Linked DNA regions of Homo sapiens: regions 1, 3 and 4 are each linked to region 2. Evidence: promoter capture Hi-C in 16 types of primary human blood cells and fetal thymus (Javierre and others, 2016). All regions are on one chromosome and are shown on one strand. The core of a region is centred on a gene start or on the middle of the fragment in contact, and the rest is flanking DNA. Distances in the headings are between cores, read along the strand shown.

Evidence for each region. The method cuts DNA at HindIII sites, captures the fragments that hold promoters and counts their contacts. A CHiCAGO score of 5 or more calls a contact.
Region 1: a fragment that was not itself captured here is called in contact with the fragment with the promoter of ERLIN2 in region 2 in 3 of 17 cell types (M0 macrophages, M1 macrophages and monocytes); the score reaches 7.8 in M0 macrophages.
Region 3: a contact is called between the fragment with the promoter of EIF4EBP1 here and the fragment with the promoter of ERLIN2 in region 2, in 2 of 17 cell types (monocytes and activated CD4 T cells). The highest score is 6.5, in monocytes.
Region 4: a contact is called between a fragment that was not itself captured here and the fragment with the promoter of ERLIN2 in region 2, in 1 of 17 cell types (monocytes). The highest score is 7.7, in monocytes.

What each region holds. Positions count from the first base shown.
Region 1 is chr8:37,360,772-37,366,086 of GRCh38, reverse strand. No RefSeq gene overlaps it. Among named protein-coding and RNA genes, the nearest start is that of LINC01605, 240 kb to the left of the region's middle. The HindIII fragment of the contact is 259 bases long and covers 1,646-1,904 here.
Region 2 is chr8:37,733,186-37,738,297 of GRCh38, reverse strand. It overlaps ERLIN2 (ER lipid raft associated 2), which reads right to left and starts at 1,664. Exons shown (of 12, transcript NM_007175.8): 1 at 1,620-1,664; 2 at 269-390. The coding sequence starts at 375. It overlaps LOC102723701 (a long non-coding RNA gene), which reads left to right and starts at 872. Exons shown (of 2, transcript NR_125821.1): 1 at 872-919; 2 at 1,500-3,537. LOC101929622 (a long non-coding RNA gene) reads right to left here. Exons shown (of 3, transcript NR_125820.1): 3 at 4,805-5,112. RefSeq lists enhancers at 310-1,102, 1,582-1,791. The HindIII fragment of the contact is 8,102 bases long and covers 1-4,563 here.
Region 3 is chr8:38,028,262-38,033,741 of GRCh38, reverse strand. It overlaps EIF4EBP1 (eukaryotic translation initiation factor 4E binding protein 1), which reads right to left and starts at 3,208. Exons shown (of 3, transcript NM_004095.4): 1 at 3,024-3,208. The coding sequence starts at 3,168. RefSeq lists enhancers at 2,388-2,487, 3,117-3,411 and a silencer at 2,988-3,427. The HindIII fragment of the contact is 5,036 bases long and covers 1-4,041 here.
Region 4 is chr8:37,396,247-37,401,820 of GRCh38, reverse strand. No RefSeq gene overlaps it. Among named protein-coding and RNA genes, the nearest start is that of LINC01605, 200 kb to the left of the region's middle. The HindIII fragment of the contact is 4,349 bases long and covers 1,584-5,574 here.

The DNA.
Region 1 (5,315 bases), core at 526-3,025, 370 kb after region 2:
GCTTCCCACTTTTCATTGTTTGTTTGTTTGTTTTTGAGATGGTGTCTCACTCTGTCACCCAGGCTGGAGTGCAGTGGCACGATGACGGCTCACTGCAATCTCCACCTCTTAGGTTCAAGTGATTTTTGTGCCTCAGCCTCCTGAGTAGCTGGAATTACAGGTGTGCACCACCATGGCCCGGCCAATTTTTGTATTTTCAGTAGAGATGGGGTTTCGCCATGTTGGCCAGGGTGGTCTCGAACTCCTGGCCTCTAGTGACCCACCCGTCTTGGCCTCTCAAAGTGCTGGGGTTACAGGCATGAGCCACGATGCCCGGCTGCTTCCCATTTTTTGGTCCTTTCTCCAGCCTCTTGGCTGGCCCTACTTTCCCCTACCTGTCAAGGGAATGGGTGGAGGGCTTGGACAGGTAGAAAATTCTGGAAATGAAGTCACGTGAAGAGGAAGGAGTCGTCTCCATGAAAAGCCAGATACTGTTTCCCGGTGGTGCTGTTGCTTGGGAGGCCAGAAGCCATCATGGTGGCTGCTCTGTTTCTGATCCCTTCACAGAAGGGCACAGCTCCTGCTCTAGGCCCTGGTCCAACAGTTTGATTCTTTGGTGCCTCTGAAGCATTGCCATAAGAAGCTCATTGTTTGGGATTTGTTAGGTACAGTGCTGGTGGTGCAACCCTGAGGAAATAATTAACAATTATTTCTGAGGAGAAGCTTCCAGCCAGAGCCGCACCTTGTGGTGGCACATACGTCTCCCAAAGAATTGTTATTTAAGCAATAATCCTTGAGAAATTGGTCGTTACCCACATTAAACGACTCAGCCCATTGCCAAGGATGGTTAACGCTCTAATAAACTGGCCATTAACTGCAGTAACAATGAATTTCGAGGGGATTATTGCTATTATAAACCTTAATCAATGGTTTATAACAGCAATAATGTGGTCCTTTCTCTTAATGGTAAGTAGGGCAGCTTGCACCATCGCCTTGAAAATGTTTTTGTGGTGGCGGCGAAGTCCGAGGGGAGGCATGGGAAGTGCTGCCCACTCTTCAGGAATGGACCATGGAAGGCAAGGGACACAGCTGAAGCTCATGGCTGCCCTGGTCTGCTCTCCAGGGATCAGGTGTGGAACAAGGAGCTGGGGATTCTCCTCCAACCCACATGTCCTCTGCCATTACAGACCGGTGAGGCACTGGGCTTTGGGACTCCTGGGCTTGCTTGTCCAGCACAAGATCTGGATTGAGGATGTGACTCTGTGTGGGCCTCCTTATGAGCAATAAGAAATAAGAAATGGCCACCTGCTTCGTGGAGTGGATGTAGTGGGGTTGCAGAATGAACACTGGCCTTGGTGTTGCTCCAGGATCCATTCTGTCCCTGCCTTGTTACGAGATTCCAGATAAGTCACATCGCCTTTCTGATTCTCTGAAAAGTGGAGTGTGGAATAAATAACTTCCCAAGTTCCTTTCTAATATAACACTCCATGGTTCCTTTAATAATATTGACATGTTATGTTAGTATACCATTATAGAGCAATAATAATAATCACTTACATAATGTCTTGTATTGTTCTTAGTTGTTTGCATATATTAATTCAATGAATCCTTGCAACAACCCTACTTTTGTTGTGGAGGACCCTGAGGCAAGAGAGATGGAGAAGCTTGTCTGAACCACAGAGCTAATCTGAAGTGGAGATGGGATTTAGATACAGATACTCTACTATCGCTCTAGGAATCCACCTTCATTATTTAATTTGATCCTTGCATCTTTTGACATAGGCAAACTGGGGCTATCACTTTAGGTTCACAAATGAAGAAACCAGGGCTTCAAGAGATGAAGAGACCTGATCAAGTAAATAGCATGGATCTGAGTACTGCCTGGGCAGAACCTCCGCTTCTGGCTGTGTTGGTGCCAGGAAGCTTCCAGACTCAGGAGCCTCTCTCTCCAATGATGTGGACTGGCTGTATCCTGAGGCCAGTCCCTCCTTGCTGAGACTTTCTCCCCCAGCAAAGGGAAAGGAAAAAGTTCACATCCTCCTACATATTACTGGAAACACGCTCCCTGGAGCTAGGAAGGCTGATCTTTAGTTCCAGCCTGGCATTGCTTAGAATGCACGAGAGAATGAACACTGTGGTGGATTTTGGGGGCCAGGGCATTTAGGTATTTAATTTTAATTTTTGTTACTATGGAAAATTTAAAGCATATACAGAAAAGGGATAGCATAATGAACCCCCAAATACCTATCACCAGCTTTAGCAGAATCCACTCATGTCCTAGCTTGTTTCATCCAACCATTGCCCCCCTATTCTTCTCACCTTGGATTATTTTGGAGTAAACCATAGTTATCATACCATTTCATCTGTTATCACTTTAGTAGACATTGCTAAAAGTAAAAAAGAAAAAAATTGCAATACTGCTATCAGACCTTAAAAAATTAACAATAATTCCTTCATATTATCTAATATCTAGTCATATTTTGAATTTCCCAGCTTAATCATGAAAATATTTAGATCTTCTTCTTGCTCCGGCTATCCACGTGCTCTGTGACCTAAGACAAATCACTTTTTGGGTTTGTTCCCATTTGCTCATCTATAGAATGAGATGTGCAGCCAATGCCACTTCTCTTTCATCACTGGCAGGTGGAAGGCCTTTGAATGACAGCACTTCTTAATAAGCCACACTGTCATGCCCAGGCATCATCCATACACCACTGGGAGGAAACTTTGAGAGGCTACCACCATAGCATGCACTTTGGAGTTTGACTTTCTTTTTGTGCTGCACACTCCAGAGAGCAGATTTGCTCTGGGAAATAGAGGAAAAGAAAGAGCAATTCTTCACATGGGCCCTGCCTCCCTGGAGAGGTGCACTTGGTGACTTTTCTCAGGAAGGGGAGCAGAGAGGATGCTGGCTGCATTTCTGCCATCAGTGATGTGCTGCTGCCTGTCCAGCTCTGGCCTTGGGGAGAATCTGGCCATATCAAGTGAGAAAGCTCTGTTCTCCTCTTAGCCTTGGTTGTGTGGGTGGATGATAAACCCAGTTCTGCCTGCTCCAGTGGGTGTGCATTTCCTCAGGTGCAAAGTGAGAGGGCTGGGCTGGGTATTCCCTGAAAGGGTGCATAAGAAACACCTGAGGGTTTTTTCAAACTTTATATTTTCTTTTTTAAATTTCAACTTTATTTTATTTATTTTATTTGATTTTTTACTTTAAGTTCTAGGATATATGCACTGAACTTGCAAGTTTGTTACATAGGTATGTATGTGCTATGGTGGTTTGCTGTACCTATCAACCCATCATCTGGACTTTAAGCACTGCATGCATTAGGTATTTGTCCTAATGCTTTCCCTCCCCTTTCCCCTCACCCCTCGACAGGCCCTACTGTGTGTTGTTCCCCTCCCTGTGTCCATGTGTTCTCATTGTTCAACTCCCATTTATGAGTGAGAACATGCAGTGTTTGGTTTCCTGTTCCTAGGTTAGTTTGCTGAGGATGATGGTTTCCAGCTTCATCCATGTCCCTGCAAAGGACATGAACTCATTCTTTTCCATTCTTATTTTAAATACAGAGGATATATATGCAGATGTGTTACATGGGAATATTGTGTGATGCTGAGGTTGAGAGTACAGATTCTGTCACCCAGGTAGTAAGCACAGGACCCGAGAGGTAGTTTTTAAACTCACCCTCCCACCCTCTGGCATTCCCCAGTGTCTATTGTTCCCACCTTGATGTCCATGTATGCTCAGTGTTCAGCTCCCACTTACAAGTGAAAAAGTATGATATTTGGTTTTCTGTTCCTGTGTTAATTTGCTTAAGATTATGGCCTCCAGCTCCATCCATGTTGCTACAAAGGACATGATTTCATTCTTTTTATGGCTGCATAGTATTCCAGGTGTATATGTATCACATTTTCTTTATCCAATCTACCATTGATAGGCACCCGGGTTGATTCCATGTTTTTGCTATTGTGAATAGCTCAGCAATAAACACATGAGTGCATGTGTCTTTTTGGTTGAATGACCTATTTTCTTTTGAGTATATACCCAGTAATGGAATTGCTGGGTCAAATGATAGCTTTGTTTTACATTCTTTGAAAAATCTCTGGACTTCTTTCCACAGTGGCTGGACAGATTTACATTCTCACCAGCAATGTATAAGCATTCTCTTTTCTCCACAGCCTCACCAACATCTGTTATTTTCTGACTTTTTAGTAATAGCCCTTATGACTGATGTGAGATGGTGTCTCATTTTGGTTTTGATTTGCATTTCTCTGATGATTAGTGATGATGAGCATTTTTTTCATATGTTTCTTGGCCACTTGTATTATATTATTTTCTTCTGGAATTTATATATTTGGGAATCAAACCTCTTCCCCTGCATTTTTTTCCCCCACCACATTGAGAGTTTTAGGGCTAAAGGATGTCCAAGTTCTCTTGATGCGCTGATGACCCGTGAGCACATGACTTTGCTTAAGCTACCAAAGCATTTCCTGCCCTGCAGGACTAAGAGGGACATGCCTGCTTGGAGAGTTTCAGCCCTGATTTCCTGGAGTGGGGAGTTGCCCAAAATGGCTTTTGGTGTGACTTCCTCTTTCAGATTTCTTCTGGAGCTGCAGGCTCTTTTCTGCAAGATGTGTCTAACCACAGTGACATGTGCCTTGTGAGTAGTGTGAGGGGATTATTCATCAACATGATGGACCAATGTATTGAAATAGGGATGATTTAGCAGTGGGAAAATCCACCAAATGCCATCTTGCCTTCTCTCTTCTGGACTCCTAATTGGGCTGTGGGCTGGGAAAATTGACCCAGTATTCTCGTGAATCTCTCACCCGCCCTGTAGCCTGTCTCCCCAAGGGTCTGATGCATCTGGGGTGTTGCTGCAGGTGGCTCTGTTGGGTGCTTCAGTCTCAGAGCCCAGTTGCCAGTGGATGGGGATCTTTAGAGGGTCTGCAGGTTCAAAAAAGTCCTTTCTTCTCACAGGTGGGCAACTTTATGGGGCTTATTTAAGGTGCATGTCTGGACCCCCATTCCTGGCTAACTCTCCCTTCCCCAGCCCCTGAGCTGTGTCTGCTGGGGTCAGTCCTGCCAGGAAGATTCCCCAGGCTTTTCCCAGGCCTCCTGTCACTCCTCTGTCCCCAACCTGGGTGGAGAAGAGTCGGTTAGGCCAGAGGCAGAAGGTGGGGGCATAAAAAGACTGATCTGGAATAAACTGAAAAGTTTACTCTGTGCAGCACTGAAATAAAAAAGCTCATTCAGAAAGTTAATGATTTATTTTATAGTTTCATTATCAGGGTCACATTACTCAATAGCATTTCAAACATGTCATTTGTACAAACTATGG
Region 2 (5,112 bases), core at 415-2,914:
TTTTGTCTCTAAATCTATATACACATTTATTAATCACCACCCATGGCATCATCTTGGACTACTAAGTGAAGTTCTAAATTTACATATATATGTGTGTGTGTGTATTCTCTTTCCCGTGGTTACTGACATAAAAAGCTCCATCTGAAAAGGCTCCCCTATTCAAGGAAATATAAATAGAGATGTTCAGCAGAATCTGCTAGGAAAGCAATGACCAGGAAAGGGAGCTATTTAACAGGAAGTTGCCGGCTTCTCCCTGTCTCTGCCTTACCTGTAATATACCCCAATATGTCCCTCTTCTATCTTGTGCACAGCTGAGAAGAGAGATGCACAAAAGAAACTGGAAGCCACAGCCACAACTGCTCCCAACTGAGCCATCAGTGAGCCTTTATCCTAGGGAAAAGACACGGGAAAATGTGTGTGGTCCAACGTGCAGGAGAAAAGGCCACAACAGCGAGAGGACCTCACCAAGCTGAGCTCCCTGCGAGTGACTCATATCCAGCCTGGTGTCGTGTGAACACAAGGCTAGATCTACAACTCGCTTCCTCCTCGTTCTCAGTCAACGTTCCCCTTTCTTTAACTGTAAAATTAGAGCCCCCACCGCACTGAGGAAGCACTGGCTCCGGATACAGCCGTTGCTCAAGGGAGAACCCGTGCCAGCTGGGTAGGGTTCAGAACACAGCCTTGTCTTCCTGTGAACACGAATGTGCTGTCACTGAACCTTTCCTACCAGTAGTAGGGAAGAGAGGCAGCTGCAGTACTTTGGCCCAAATTACAGAGGATGCCAAATGACAGGCAGTTGTGGCTATGTAATTCTGGTCAGAGTCTCCCACTCCTAATTGCCTGCAGTTTCAAAGGAAACCATTATTTACTCCTTTCAGATGCTGGAGTGGCAGAGCCAGCAGGCGAGCAGAGTTTCAAGGTAGGATTCGTTGGCCTCGCATCCACCTTCCCAGTTATTCCTTTGGCCCTAAACAGGACAGGGCTCTGAACAAGCCTGAAGCCACACTCCCCCCCATATACTTTGGCACTTTGCACCTGACAGATCCCCAAGCCCGTGGTCAGAGAGAAAGGCAATGTCCCAAACTGCGAGCCTCTAGGCTCCTAGGTCCAACCGCGTTCAGGCACCAGGACGCGGAGGAGTGGGATCCTGAACGCTGAATGATCTGGAACTATGGTGACTGACTGCAAAGTTCAGCTGTGCGTGCGTGGGCCCGTGAGCGCAGGGCGTGGATTCTGCCTCCCAGGTCTAACGTAACCGGGGCGCGGACATCTGCGAGGCGCTTATTTTACCGTGGCGGCCTCCGGCTACCGATCTGCAGTTGCGTCCTTTCCTGCCAGTGCCCTTCCCTCCCCGAGGTCACTCGCGCCCCTTCCCCGCCCCGTTCCGAGAGAGGGTCAAGCGCCCTGGTCTGGGGCTGCGGCTCCAATAGCCTCCGCTCGGTCCCCCTGCGGCTCGCAAGGAGAGGACGCGACAGAAAAGGGTTTCTGTCTCTCTCCAGGAGCGGGCCGGCTGAGGGAGAGAAGCTGCTGGGACTGAGGTTCCCGAAAGTGACGGGTCAGCCCCGACCCTGAGCGGCAGCTAGGCCCAGCGCGCGCACGAAGGGGCGGGGGCCGCGTACCAGGCTGTCCCTGCAGGCGCTCCGTACTCGTCCGAGCCCACGAGCAAGAAAACCGTCACACCCCTCAGCACGCGACTTCCTTCCGGGCCGTCGCTTCGATGACGCCATCAATTCACGCGAGAAGACCACACCCCCGCCCCGCGCTCGCTCTGCGCCCCGCCCCTCGCGCTCCCAGCGGTCAATGGCCGTAGCTGGCCGCCAGGGATCGCCCGCGACTTGGTCGGTGCGGTCCTGGACCTCGGTCTTGGGTATCCGTCCTGGGGCTGGGGATGAGGGCGGTGTTGGTGGGAGCTCCCCGAGAGCGAGCGGCAGGACGCGCATGCCCCGGAGTACTGAGACCCAGGGCGAACCTTTCCAAGGCGTTGACTTTGGGGATTGCTCCGGATTTCCTTCTGCATTAGGCCGAACCTGGTTCGTTTTGGTTTTTTTAGAGACAAGGTCTCGCTCTTTTGCCCAGGCTGGAGTGCAGTGGCACGATCATAGCTCACTACAGCCTCGAACTCCTGGGCTTAAGCGATCCTCCCACCTCACCCTGCTGAGTAGCTGGGACCACAGGCGCACGCCACGACACTTGACAATTTTATTTTTAGTAAAGACAGGGTCTTGGTATTTCTGGTCTCAAACTCTGGCTTCAAGCAATCCTCCTGCCTCGGCCTCCCAAACTGCTGGGATTACAGGCATGAGCCACCATGCGCGGCCTTTTTTTTTTTCTCTCCTTGATAAGGTACTGGCGAGTTGCAACTGTTTGCTTTCCTATAGCACAGCTGAAATGAAACAGTCTTTTCAATGTACAGATTAGCATCATTACCTCACCAATCAAAAATCCCTACCTTGAGTTGTTCTTTATATTTTTCTGGGAGCTTTGGCCCTTGGGATCCTGCAACGCCACAAAGTATATTAACAAGGAATTATTATTCTAATTTTAATGAACGGAATCTAAGAAGTTCAGCGAGGTTCAAGGGTAAAAGCCAAGGAAAGTTTCCTTTGTGTTTCCTTAATATCTTGAGTTCACTGCTTTTTAAACTCCTGCCACAGTGCACAGGGGCTAGTGCACTTCGTCTTTCTAGATAAACTGTACGTTCCCGGGAGAGCAGAGACTGACTTTCCTTCCGCACCCCCGGGGCTTAGGTGCCCAGTAAAAACAGACTGAAGGCAACGTGGGACCAGGCCCGGAATCCAGAGTTTGTGTCTCCTAGTCTAAGGGCCTCACGTTGTCCTCCACCTGCCCTATTCACCAGCATCACATTGGGGCATTTCTAATTCAGCCACTGAGGTTATTAATATTTTGTTTGCAGGAGAGAAAGAGTCCACTTAATTATAGCCTTCAGTAAAAGAAAAACTTTTACACCGGGAAGATGGCAAGCTGGTGGTGTTAGACAGATTTAAGACTCAGGAAAAGGGAAGTGTGGTTTTTTCCAGGCATGCCTGCTTGGGATTGGCCCGTTTACCTTTCCTGCGTTTGCTCTGGGTGTTGGGATGTTTCAGCATTACATGGTGAAACCCATACGAGGGTTACATGGTGCTGTCTGGGAGCTCTGTGCCCATCTCCATAAATGAAGGCCTTTCATCTCCCTACTCTGTCCCTGCATCCCCCACCCCAAACAGACACAGCTGGCCAATCTCTCGATCAATCCTATCAGAACTTGAGTTTTTTCTCTCCCTGTTCAGTGATATAACCTCAGCTGGGCATGCTTATTTAATAGTTTATTTAATAATTGAGTAAGAAAAATGGAAATATTAGGGTTCATCAACCCATGAAATGGGGGCTAGCCTGCAGCATCAAGTATTTAAATTACTTGTAATTTAAGAATTTCCTTTAACCAACCTCTGGCAACCCGTCTCCCCTCCCCTTCCCACAAATATGTATATTATTATGTGTCAATTAAAAATAATAAAAACACAAAAATTTCCTCACATTAAACTTTGGAGTGAATTGTGGCTAGAAGTTTTGGGATTTTGTTCTTAGGAGTCATTTTACCAGACCTGAGTTATTTAGTTGTGGACGTGCCTAAAGGCAGGGGGATGGACTTCGTGATGTGCTAGTACATGATGATCTAGTACTTCTGAAAATCTCTTTCTTAAGAGACCTGTGATTTTTATGTTACCCAGCAGATACATTTGTGATGATTTGTTTAACAAAAATGTTTACAATTTCTTTTTCTCCTTCCTTCCTTCCTTCCTTCCTTCCTTCCTTCCTTCCTTCCTTCCTTCCTTCCTGTCTCGCTCTGTCACCCAGGCTGGACTGCAGTGGCGCGATCTCAGCTCTGCAACCTTTGCCTCCCTTCAAGCGATTCTCCTGCCTCAGCCTCCCGAGTAGCTGGGGCTACAGACGCATGCCACCACGACTGGCTAATTTTTGTATTTTTAGTAGAGATGGGGTTTCACCACGTTGGTCAGGCTGGTATTGAACTCCTGACCTCAAGTGATCCACGTGCCTTGGGCTCCCAAAGTGCTGGGATTACAGGCGTGAGCCACTGCGCCCGGCTAAAATTTTATTTTTTAAAAAACCTCACAGTATAGAGTAGTGATTTAGCTCAGATACTTCACAGTCAGGCTGCCTTGTTTAAATCCTGGAGCCTGCCTCTTATTCTGTAACATTGGAAAAATGATCTATCCCTGCCTCAGTTTCTTCATCTATAAAATTAAAGTAATAATGGTATGAAACTTATAGGACTGTTGTGAAAAGCATATACAACATTTGGTACATTTTAAGTGTTCACCAAGTGTTAGCTGTTGCTGTTTTAAATAGCAAATTCCCTTAATGTATTCTTGCATGTTTGTGGGTTATCATTGCAGATTATTAATGTGACACAGGGCGAGAGAATGATAAACTTTAAGTTGTATGGTATTAAATAATAACCAAATGAAGGCTTATCAGAAGAAGAGATAAAGGCTTCTGAAATTATACCTCAATGGATATTTACAATACAGATTTCATAAAGCTTTATTGAATACTGTCTATGTATCAGCCCCAGTACCTTACATTTTCTCATTTTATGTAAACTTTAGGTCAGCCCTTTGAGTTCAACTCCATTTTAGAGGAGAAAGTGGAAGCTTAGAGAAATTAAGAGATTGTCTAAGATCACGAAGATGATAAATTGCAAAGGCAGAGTTCAAATGATCCCGTCTATTTCTTTTTTATAGTGAATGAGTTAGAAAATGATTCAATTTCAGACACAAACACACACACACACCCCACATTTATTTCACATGTAACCTTTCAGTAATGTAGATCAGTGGTCAGAAACTGAAATTTTTCTAATTAAATTGGGCCAGTTCATTTTGCAGTTGTAGATTGAAGCAGGTTAAAAAATACTCTCACCTAGCAATCCATAGTTTTCTATTTCTATTGCTGTTTGTTGGGTCCTCTTACCAAGAAAATTGTTAGTGAGAGTGCCATGCCAAAGAAGAGACCCCTTCTTTCACAATTAGGAATTTTTAAGTCAATTTCACAATTAGACTTTTTAAGCCAATAAGCAGGTCCAAAGGATTC
Region 3 (5,480 bases), core at 1,959-4,458, 290 kb before region 2:
AAAGCAAACTGGAGTCATAGGAATGGAGATAGTGCAACCCAACTGCTGCTTCTTTCCCTCCAGGGACAATCACTTGAGGGCCATTCCCAGCAGGAGTGACTGGGGGGTACTTACTCCAATGGTTTTTCCTGAGAAGCTGACAGTCCCTATAAGTAAGCAGGTGCAGACAGCCATGCAGACACTCTATCAAAAGCCTGGCTCTCCACACCACGATTTAGAGATCAAAGTTTACCTGGATGGAGCCATCTTTTTTTTTTTTTTGCTAGACTCCAGAGATCTGAAAGGTGAGGGAAGTTATGTTTCACTAATTCCTGAGTACTCAGAGTGTGGTATGTGCACCAATCAGTCAGAGCTAGTTAGAAATGCTGAATCTAGGCCGGGCATGGTGACTCACGCCTGTAATCCCAGCATTCTGGAAGGCCGAGGCAGGCAGATCACTTGAGGCCAGGAGTTTGAGACCAGCCTGGTCAACATGGTGAAACCCCCGTCTCTACCAAAAAATACAAAAATCAGCTGGGCATGGGTGGTGCATGCCTGTTGTCCCAGTTATTGGGGAGGCTGGGGTGGGAGGATTGCTTGAACCCAGGAGGTGGAGGTTGCTGTGAGCTGAGATTGCGCCACTGCACTCCAGCCTGGGTGATAGAGTGAGACCCTGTCTCAAAAAAAAAAAAAAAAAAAAGAAAGAAAGAAAAGAAAGAAATGCTGAATCTAGTTCCCACCCCCACCTACAGAATCAGAATATGCACTTAAATGAAGCCCCCAGTTATCCTCAAGCACCTGGAAGACTGAGAGGCAGTATTCTGCTCTGGAGCAAAAGGGTGTGACCATTTTGGCTGCAATGTGACCATTTTGGCTTCTCTGCCCTGGCAGAGGTGGGCTGAGGTGGGCTTTGGAGGAAGAGTCCACACCTTGGCTAATCGAGGCCGACCAGGCTTGCTTGACTTTAGTGGAAGTCAGCCAGGTTTCCCTGGCTTAGGGACTGTGAGCTGTACCTGCTCCACTGGACGACCAAACAGTGAGCTGGCTTTAGGCTCCTGGCACTGCTAGCTTCTTCCAGTGATCTCAGAAACATATGCTATGCCCTGATGCAGAAGTCCCTTCCCCACTCCCCCTACTGCTAAAGACCTTCAAAGGGAAGGGGATTTGCTGTGGTCTGTCAGCCCCCTGCCCACTCCCCACTTCCCAACCCAAAGTGAAAAGTGGATTTGAAGTTCCTATATTTTATATTTATTATTTATTTTAGAGATAGGGTCTCGCTCTGTCACCCAGGCTGGAGTGCAGTGGTCAATCATAGCTCACTACAGCCTCCAACTCCTGGGCTCAAGCGATCCTCTGGCCTCAGCCTCTGTAGTAGCTAGGACAACATTTTGTTGTTGTTTTGTTTGTTTCTTTGTAGAGATGGAGTCTCACTATGTTGCCCAGGCTGGTCTTGAACTCCTGGCCTCAAGCAATTCTCCTGCCTTGGCTCCCCAAAATGCTGGCATTACAGGTGTGAACCTTGGTACCCGGGCCAGAAGTGCCTATAAACAGTATCCTGGCTTCCAATTTGACCCAACAATCCAGCAATAAAGAGTGCAAAAAAGGGCTACCTGCGCCTTCAGGCCGGCCTCAGGGCCCACCCTGAACAAATCCAGCAGACACTTACACCCTCATTTGAAAGAACTCCAAAATTGTCAGGAATTGTCCTGGTAGACCATTGTGACAGAGACAAAGGAGAACAGCATGGACTACAAAAGACCCAGCAAGGGAAAGAGGATGAGTCGGGAATGGCAACAAGAGCCCCTGCGAGCTTTTCCTTGGCTCATTTCTAATAGAAAAGGAAGCATTTCTCCCTTCTCTGCCTGGTTGCTATTTCTTGTCCAATCTGGGAAAACGGTGTGACAATGGGCAACAGACACGTGTTCAAGCTCTGGGGCCTCAATGCCGGGCTCTGTAGAATAAGACGGCAGGGCTGGACAAGATCCCTAACCGTTCTAACAGTGTATGTTTTGGATCAAACAGCAGAGGACCTCGGATCTGGCCGCGCTCGCTGCTGGTGGGACAGCTGCCTGAGAAAATAAGCATGTGGCCCCCGCCCGCCACCTAGCCAAGCGCCAGGATCTGTCGCGTTTTCTAGTAGTATGGAAAGCAGCGTGGAGGAGAATGAAGGGAGAGGAGCAAAAAGGGGTGGGGGCAGTGCGACAATGAGAGGGGAGGAGAGAGCCACGAGGATTTATTTCATCATGCAAACAGGCGCGTAGGTTTCATCAGCGTCTGTGCGCTGGGGCTCCGGGGCTGGGAGGGAATGCCAGGTTCCTGAGGGCAGCCCGAGGCTGGCCCCCCCACCCGTGCCAGCTCAGCTTCCTCTTCCTCATCCTCTCCCAGGGAGGTCACACGGTGCCTCCTCCTCTCCCCGGACAGAAGAACGTGTTTTTCTGCACAGCCCTGGCCGTGGCGCCAGGGTCCCCCCCGCGGAGATCCCACTCGCGTAAATGGGGAACGTGCCACAGGTGCCCGGGAGGCGCTGCTGGAGCAGGCAAGCACCCCCAGATCCGAACCTCAGTCAGAGCGCGCGAGTCCAACACAAAACTCGGCGTGCTTCGGGAAGGAAAAAGGGCCCTGCAGGAATCGTTTATCCCAACAGATAATACCCATCCCATAAAAACACCAGGCCAGGCCTCTCCTGGATCGTGGGCCACCCTAACTCCGCCCTCTCCCGCTTCGGGAGCGCCCCCAACACCCACAAGGGGCAGCACAGCTCGGCATGTGGCTGTCCTGGAGGCGTGCGTGTTTGTTAGGTGTCAGCTGTCTGACACCTAACAGAAAGAGGAAACAAACGGGGCAGTTTGTAACTCGGGTCTGGAAGACGCACTCAGAGGGGAAGCGGGCGGCCACTTCCATGACCCTCGCTGTCTCTCCGATGCCCCTTTTCCGTTCTTTCCAATCACGGCGCCCTTGAGCCTGGACACCCGGTCCAATCCGCGATTCCCGATCCTCCCGCCCGCCCAGGAGCCGGCAAGCGGCGTCGCCAAGCCCGCGCCTACCTCCCGGGGTGGTGCTGAAGAGCGTGCCGCCGGGGGTCGTGCTGTAGTCCCCGGGCGGGAGCTGCACGCCGTCGCCGAGCACCACCCGGCGAGTGGCGGGGATGGCCCGGCTTGGGGTCTGGCTGCAGCTGCTGCCCCCGGACATGGTCTCCTGTGCGCTGCACCCGCGAACCTCTCGCTGCCCTCCCGCGCCTCCAGCCTCGCTCCGCCTCGCCCCGTGCCGCCCCGCCCCAGGACGCCCCTTCCGCCTCTCCCGCCCCACGCCCCTGGGATTTGTAGTCCGCGCCGCAGCCCCACCCAGCTCCAGGACGCTGCTTCCACGTGGGATCCCCCGCCGCCCCCCGACCCACTCCCGTCTGCTCACGGGCTCTTCCGCACGGGCGCTGGCGCCGCCCCGCAGCGACTGCCCCTCCGTCCGGGGTCCCTCCCCGCCACGCTGGCAGGGACGGATATGGGGATGGCGGGCGGGATAGCTCGCCTAAATTAATCCTTGGCTGGGTTGGGGGCGGCGACTCAGGACCGCGCGGAGATCCGAGCTGACCCGGCCCACTGCAGGAAGGCCCGGTTTCTGCATTAGGACATCAGGCCTGGTGTACCCTTCGGCACTCCCTGTTTCGTGCCTTAGTTCCTCAGATGAGAAAATGGGGATTGAGTAGTTATGCTCACCGCCCCCCGCCCCGCTTCAATTTCTTGACCTTGATGGGGGTGGGGGTGGAGGGGCTAACAATTCCGTTCCCGGCCTTTAGAGAGGGTGTGGGAGGAGGAGTGAACCAACCAGCGGCGTCCTGGGAGCTAAATTTAGAGCTGGGGGCGCAGAGGTGGGTGGTGGGGAAGGGCGTTGGAGAGGAGTAAGAGTGTCGAAGAGGTTTCCCGATAGCCCCTGAATTGAGTCCAACGTCCACCTGAGGTTTAGTAGGTACTCCTTGGATGGATGGATGGATGGATGGATGGATGGATGGATGGATGGATGTTCAAGGGGAGAGAGAAAAATGCAAGAAGGACCGAGGATGGAAAAGCTTGTTGGGTTTGAGAAGTTCTTAGCATTATGGGCACATATTGTGGGGAAGAGGGTGAAGAGGGGAGGGCAGTTTAAAAGGGAAATTGGGTGGTGCACCTGTAATCCCAGCTACTCAGGAAGCTGAGGCTGGAGGATGCTTGAGCCCAGGGGTTTGAGGCTCCAGTGAGCTGTGATCACACCACTGCACTCCACCCTTTGTGACAGAGACCCTATCTCTAAAAAAATATATAATAATTTTTTAAAAAGGAAATTGGGGTCAGGTCGTTGAGTTTTTCAAATTATGCCAAAGTGCTTGGACTTTGTCTTAGAAGGGCAGGAGATATCAGAGATCTTTTAAGCAGGGGGATGACATGATTTGAGTTGTTTTTTGGAAGGATAACTAGTAGCCAGTGGAGTTTCAGAATGGGCCAAGGAGGGCAAGGCCTGAGATAGGGAGACCTGTTGAGTTTGGTCTCACTTTTGAGGGAAACTTTAGGCCTACAGTGGCTAAGACAGTAGCCACCAGCTACAGGTGCACATTGAGCACTCCAAATGTGACCAGTCCAAACTGTCACAAGTTTAACATACACACCATATTTCAAAGACTTAGTGTGAAGAAAATCATGTAAAATACCTGAATAATTTGTTTCTATATTGATTGTATGTTGAACTGATAATATTTTGAGTATACTGGGTTAAGAAAAATACATTATAAAAATTAATTTTGGGCCAGGCGCAGTGGCTCACGCCTGTAATCCCAACACGTTGGGAGGCCGAGGCAGGCGGATCATGAGGTCAAGAGATCGAGACCATCCTGGACAACATGGTGAAACCCTGTCTCTACTAAAAATATAAAAAAAATTAGCTGGGCATGGTGGCGCATGCCTGTAGTCCCAGCTACTCGGGAGGCTGAGGCAGGAGAATTGCTTGAACCTGGGAGGCAGAGGTTGCAGTGAGCTGAAATCATGCCACTGCACTCCAGCCTGGCGTCAGAGCAAGACTCTGTCTCAAAAGAAAAAAAAATAAATTTCGGCTGGGTGCAGTGGCTCACGCCTGTAATCCCACCACTTTGGGAGGCCTAGGCGGGTGGATCATGAGGTCAGGAGTTCAAGACCAGCCTGGCCAAGATGGTGAAACCCTGTCTCTACTAAAAATACAAAAAAACAAAACAAACAAACAAACAAACAAAAACAACAGACCGGGCACAGTGGCGGGTGCCTGTAATCCCAGCTACTCGGGAGGCTGAGGTGGAGAATTGCTTGAACCTGGGAGGCAGAGGTTGTAGTGAGTAGAGATCTGCCACTGCACTCCAGCCTGGGTGACAGAGTGAGACTCCGTCTCAAAAAAAAAAAAAAAAAAAAATTAATTTCATCCAGGTGCTGTGGATCACACCTGTAATACCAGCACATTTGGAGACCGAGGTGAGCAGACTGCTTGGGCTCAGGAGTTTGAGACAAGCC
Region 4 (5,574 bases), core at 2,509-5,008, 340 kb after region 2:
TTCTCTATTCCAGTTCTTATGAGGCCTTGCTGAGCTAGTGTTCTACTTTGTGGGTTTCCATGAACTTCCTTTTAAGGTTCCGCTTATATTCTTACAGCTAATCCCTTTTTAATCTCCTGAGAAAAGAAAGAAAACGAAGTAGAATGATAACTATTTTCTACTTAAAGACTGCCATATTCACAGGGAATAAGCAAAGGCTGAGATTTAGTAACAGTGTTCTTGTAATAAGAGGCTTGACATTCTAGCCTGACAGCAAGGAATAAAAGCAGAAGAACATTTTTCCTGGACCATAACCATTCCCTTAGCTGGTGGAATAAAGGTTATTGCCACATCCCTAAAGAAGAGCAGCTGAAGACATATAATAATTCTGTAATCTGTATAGTCAGATGCATATCAATATTTTGGTACTCTTTGATTTTTATACAAAATATGACTTTAGCCATTCTTAACCTCTTAATATCTTCTTCATACAGACACTAAAATAATTTTTGAAATATTACTGTAGACTAGCACTTCCCAAATAGTGTTCCTTGAAAGGCTATCATCTCTAGATATATAACTGTACTTTGTGTGATAAAAGACTAGTTGGTTAAAAAAATTGGGAAACACTCTTGGAGATTCAAAATGCACATTTGTATATTAAAGGCTCTGAGAAGTCCTTCAGTGAAGAAGCTTGTTGAACTTTAACCCAGCATGCCCCAAATTCATTTAACTATTTTCGCCCATGCTGGAGTGCAGTGGTGCGGTCTTGGCTCACTGCAACATCTGCCTCCTGGGTTCAAGTGACTCTCCTGCCTCAGCCTCCAAAGTAGCTGGGATTATAGCCACCTGCCACCATGACCAGCTAATTTTTGTATTTTTAGTAGAGACGGGGTTTCACCATGTTGGCCAGGCTGGTCTTGAACTCCTGACCTCAAGTGATCCACCCTCCTTGGCCTCCCAAGGTGTTGGGATTACAGGCGTGAGCCACTGTGCCTGGCCTAACTATGAAACCTTTTTTTTTAATGAGCACCTATTAAAATCCTTCTGGACACAAATAATATGAGGAATAGAGCTTAGGAAACACTGTTATTATTCTAAGAATGTTCATGTGGGCTATGGTGTGGTAAAGTTGGCATGACCGCAAGAGGGAATGAGAATAAAGCTTGAAAAGAAAAAGTTGATTATACTCACAGATCCCAGAGAGGAATTCGCCACATGCCATACTGGGCCACAGGAGAAGCACCAGGTTTGGGTCAGGTGGCAGAAGACAAGAGTGCGGGGAGAGCCTGAGATAGAGCTGGGGTTTCTGCGGGAAACGCAAGGCAGGGCAGAGTGGACAGATTAGGGCTGACTAGTTTGAATAATTCTGGTGGGCTTTGAGCTATAGCAGTGGTCTCTAGTTGCCTGGTACCTGGCACTGGGATGATTTAGGACAGAGGAAATATTGGCTTGATATGTGAGAGTTATAGAAGGAGGTGGTTGAGGCTAGAGATGTGGGATTGGTTTGTTTGTACATAAGAAACATACTCCTTGCTGAGTCTTTTACTGAGACTAAGAAGGGACTGGCCAGGAAGGAACAGTCTCCCCTTGGTCAGAAAGCTTTTTAAGATGTCAAAACATCACAAAATGTAAAAAATACAAAAACACAATCAATACAGTGATACAGGGATATTTTGGATGAGTGTACCCTGATTGACTTCAAAAGTCTAGATTTTGGAGACCAAAGTGGGCAAAAACCAAGTAAGATGAGCAATTCCTCATTAAAAAATTTTGTTTTTATTGTATCAATCACAGTCTAGTCAGAAAAAGAAACCAACCTATGTATTTCATACAGAGGATATTTAATACAGGCAATAGGCTACAACGATCTTAGACAGTCAAAGAGCAAAAAAGGGGAAATTAAGGTAAATCAGATATTATCTAGGGCTGGAGGAACAAAAGAATGGTGATGGGGTTTCCAGAACCTAAGAGCACAGAAAGTGGATTACAGCCTCAAAAGCGTGATGGTGGTGATGTGTGCCTGTAGTGCCAGCTACTTGGGAGGCTGAGATGGGAAGATCACTAGAGCCTGGGGAGGTTGAGGCTTCAGTGAGCCATGATCACACCACTGCACTCCAGCCTGAGTGACAGACCAAGACCCTGTCTCAAAAGAAGTAAAAAGCTGAGATGGTGGAAGAAACACTATCAGAAGAAGAAAGGAGAGAAGCAGGAGAAGAGAGAGAGACAGAGAGAGAAAGAGAGAGAGAGAGAGAGAGAGAAACAAAGACATCTCCCTTCCTCTCTTGTCTTGATTTTCCTGCCAGTTAGACAAAACTTAACTGGAAGCCAACTGCCAAAGAGATCTGGGAAATGTAGTTTTCAGACTTCCAGCCCCATTATTATAGAGGGAAGTTATGGGACCATGCTTAACAAAGCTCAGTTTTGGCTTGGGGCAGTTTTGTAAAGAGCTACATATTACTAGCTATTATTATGAGGCTATTGTTCAAGTCTTAATGGATCTGCCAAACAATCATTTTGACTTATACTCTCTTCTAAATTAATTAGTAGTTTGACTAATCAGTGTGATCATTTAAGGCCAACATGCCCCAAGGGAAAACGTGTAAATAAGTTTTTTTGAATTATTCAAATAAGAGAAAATTCTATTTGAAAAAGAAGTCTCTAGCAGTAAAACTTTTCACAGAAAAAAACCCCCAAAACCACACCTGAAAAGAACCTGAATGTTTAATAATAGGTGATGAACTAGGATAATTTTAGTATATTACTTAGACTCTTATGTATTTATCACAAATAATTAGTGTTGGTGTTACATAAGAAAACCCATTCTTGGGGAAGGATTAAATGCTAACCAAAGCAACTTATTTTTAATTAATATTTTTAGACTCTATGCTGTCATACTGAACTCACTGCTAGCTAAGAGACCTATCAGAGATTTAAATATATTTTCTCAAGGTTTTTTCTGGGTTTTCTTTTGGTTCTATCTATGTGACAGAGGCTCTTTCTAAAAGTATGTAGTTCACTGTGTGTTGGCTCCAGCAGTAACCATCCTCACTGCACCACACACTCCTCTGTAGAAGTGCATTCAGTGGGAGTTCCCTCCGGCCCCAGGACGGCAGCAGCAGCCAAGTGCTGAGTGGATTGAGTGCCAGGTGGATCCGAGACTTTTCCTCCCTTCCAGAAGGCACTAGAAGCTCCTCTAACTGAAGGCAGGGTGGGTCATGTGGGGCCGGCTGAAATGCTCCAACTTTTTCATAAAGCATGGGTGGTCCAGTTTAGACTGATGGGAATCTTCCTGTTATTCTTTTTAAATGGATGATACCGATGGAAATAAAAGGTGGAAAATATATTTAAAAAAAGAAAACCCATTCTTTTAAACAATATATATTGAGCACCTAACATATGCCAGGCACCATAATTAATGACAGGCATAAAAACACAGATGGGACCTTGGCCTCTGTTCTTATGGTTCCTGTAATCCCATGGAGGAGATAGCCTTATAAACATGAAAAAGGGTTTACAACTTACCTAAGAAATTAGAATGGCAAATTTTTATGTATACAAATTTTCTATAATGAACATGTATTATATGTATAATAAAAGTAGTAAATTCTTGTAATATAGTTTTTATAACTATGTAAAATACGTAATTATTAGTAGAGAACACAAAAGAGTGAAAATAATTGTGTTAGGGTAATCCTAATATGATATTCAGTTTTATTTCAACTTGGCCAGGTTATAGTCCCAATGATTTAGTTAAACATTAATCTAGATATTGCTGTGCAGGTATTTTGTAGATGTGGTTGACATCTTCCATCAGTTGATCTTATGTAAAGGAGAGGTCCCTGGGTAATGCGGGTGGGCCTCATCCAATCAGCTGGAAGGCCTTAAGGGAAGACACTGAGGTTTCCTGAATAAGAAATTCTCCCTGAAGGCTGTAGCATCAGCACTAGTCACAATAGCAAAGACATAGAATGAACCCAGGTGCCTACCAATGGTGGATTGGATAAAGAAAATGTGGTACATGTACACCATAAAATACTACACAGCCATAAAAAAGAATGAAACCATGTCTTTTGCATCGACGTGGATGCAGATGAAGGCCGTTTTCCTAAGTGAATTAATGCAGAAACAGAAAACAAAATATCACATATTCTCACCTATAAGTGAGAGCTAAACATTGAGTACACATGGACATAAAGATAGGACTCCAAAAGGGGGAAGAAGGGAGGGGGACAAGGGTTGAAAAACTCCCTATTGGGTACTCTGTTCACTATCTGAGTGATGGGACCAATAGAAGCCCAAACTTCAGCATCAGGCAGTATGCTCTTGTAACAAACCTGCACATGTACTCCCTGAATCTAAAATTTTTTTTCAAAGACTACAGCATCAGCTCCTGCTGCAGCCTCCTGGGCTGTCTTTGGATTTTGGACTTGTGTGAGCCAGTTCCTTAAAATAAACATCTTTATTTCATATGTATATGTATATATTACACACACACACACACACACACACACACACTTACCTTCTGTTGGTTCTGTTTTTCTGGAGAACCTGACTGATACAGCTACTGCCTTTTTCTTTTAAATAGTCCTTAATTTAATGTTGGTTTTATCATGTATAATTTCTTTAAAGGATCTTCTGCCTTTATGAGCCCCTTTGACTATCTTTTCTCAGTCCTCCAGCAACTTCTGCCCACCATTGGCTTACAGATTCCCAAAGCCTGTCTGTTAAGGCAGAATCTAATGGAGACAAAGGCCAGAGTGTCTTAACTTGCATATTTCCTTTTTTCTCTCCAAACTGGCTACTGAGCAAGGGCAGTGGTGGCTCTCAGGCTCAAGGCCAGAACAGCTCTGTGCATGCCTGGACTCCATCAGCCCTTTGTTGGATCCCAGAGAGCTGTGCTCCCATCAAGGGACAGTGGCCCATCGAGGGCAGTATTTTTTGACAACCCAGGGCAGTTTGGCTAAGACTAGTACAAAAGTCCCAGGAGCCCTGGGTGGTGTGCCATCCCCAGCATTCTTCAACCCCCACCTCACCTAGAAGGGGATTGGACAGTGAGCTGTTAGTGATTCACTCTTCAGTCTGAAGCATGGTCTTGTATTTCTTGAGAGGTGGCATTGTCAAATAAACGCAGGTTCTGGGAACAGAACCTTGGGTTGCAATTTCAGCTGAGCCACTTTCTGGCTGTGTGAGTGCATCAAATTTATTTAACCATGTTGTGACTCTGTTTCTCATCTGTGAAGTGGGAATATCTATTCAACCAAACTTGCAGGGTTGTGGTGAAGATGTCATATATAATGTGTAATTTTCTAGCACATAGTAGGGGATCCCACAAATTGTAATCACTATGATGATTATATCTTTGAGGGTGAGGATGAATTTTGGAAAAGCCTTTGTACACCTTTCCTAAGAAGTGGAGACCATATCACCTCCCACATCCAGCTGAGGATAAAGAAAGAAAGGATGCTTGCAAAGCACACTGAACCCTGAGAGGATGCCAGGATTTCACTGTCATTTAATATTGCCACCATGTTGGTTAATAACATATTGACCAACTCTACAAATAGTAGAGTAAATTTACTATCACTCAGAAAT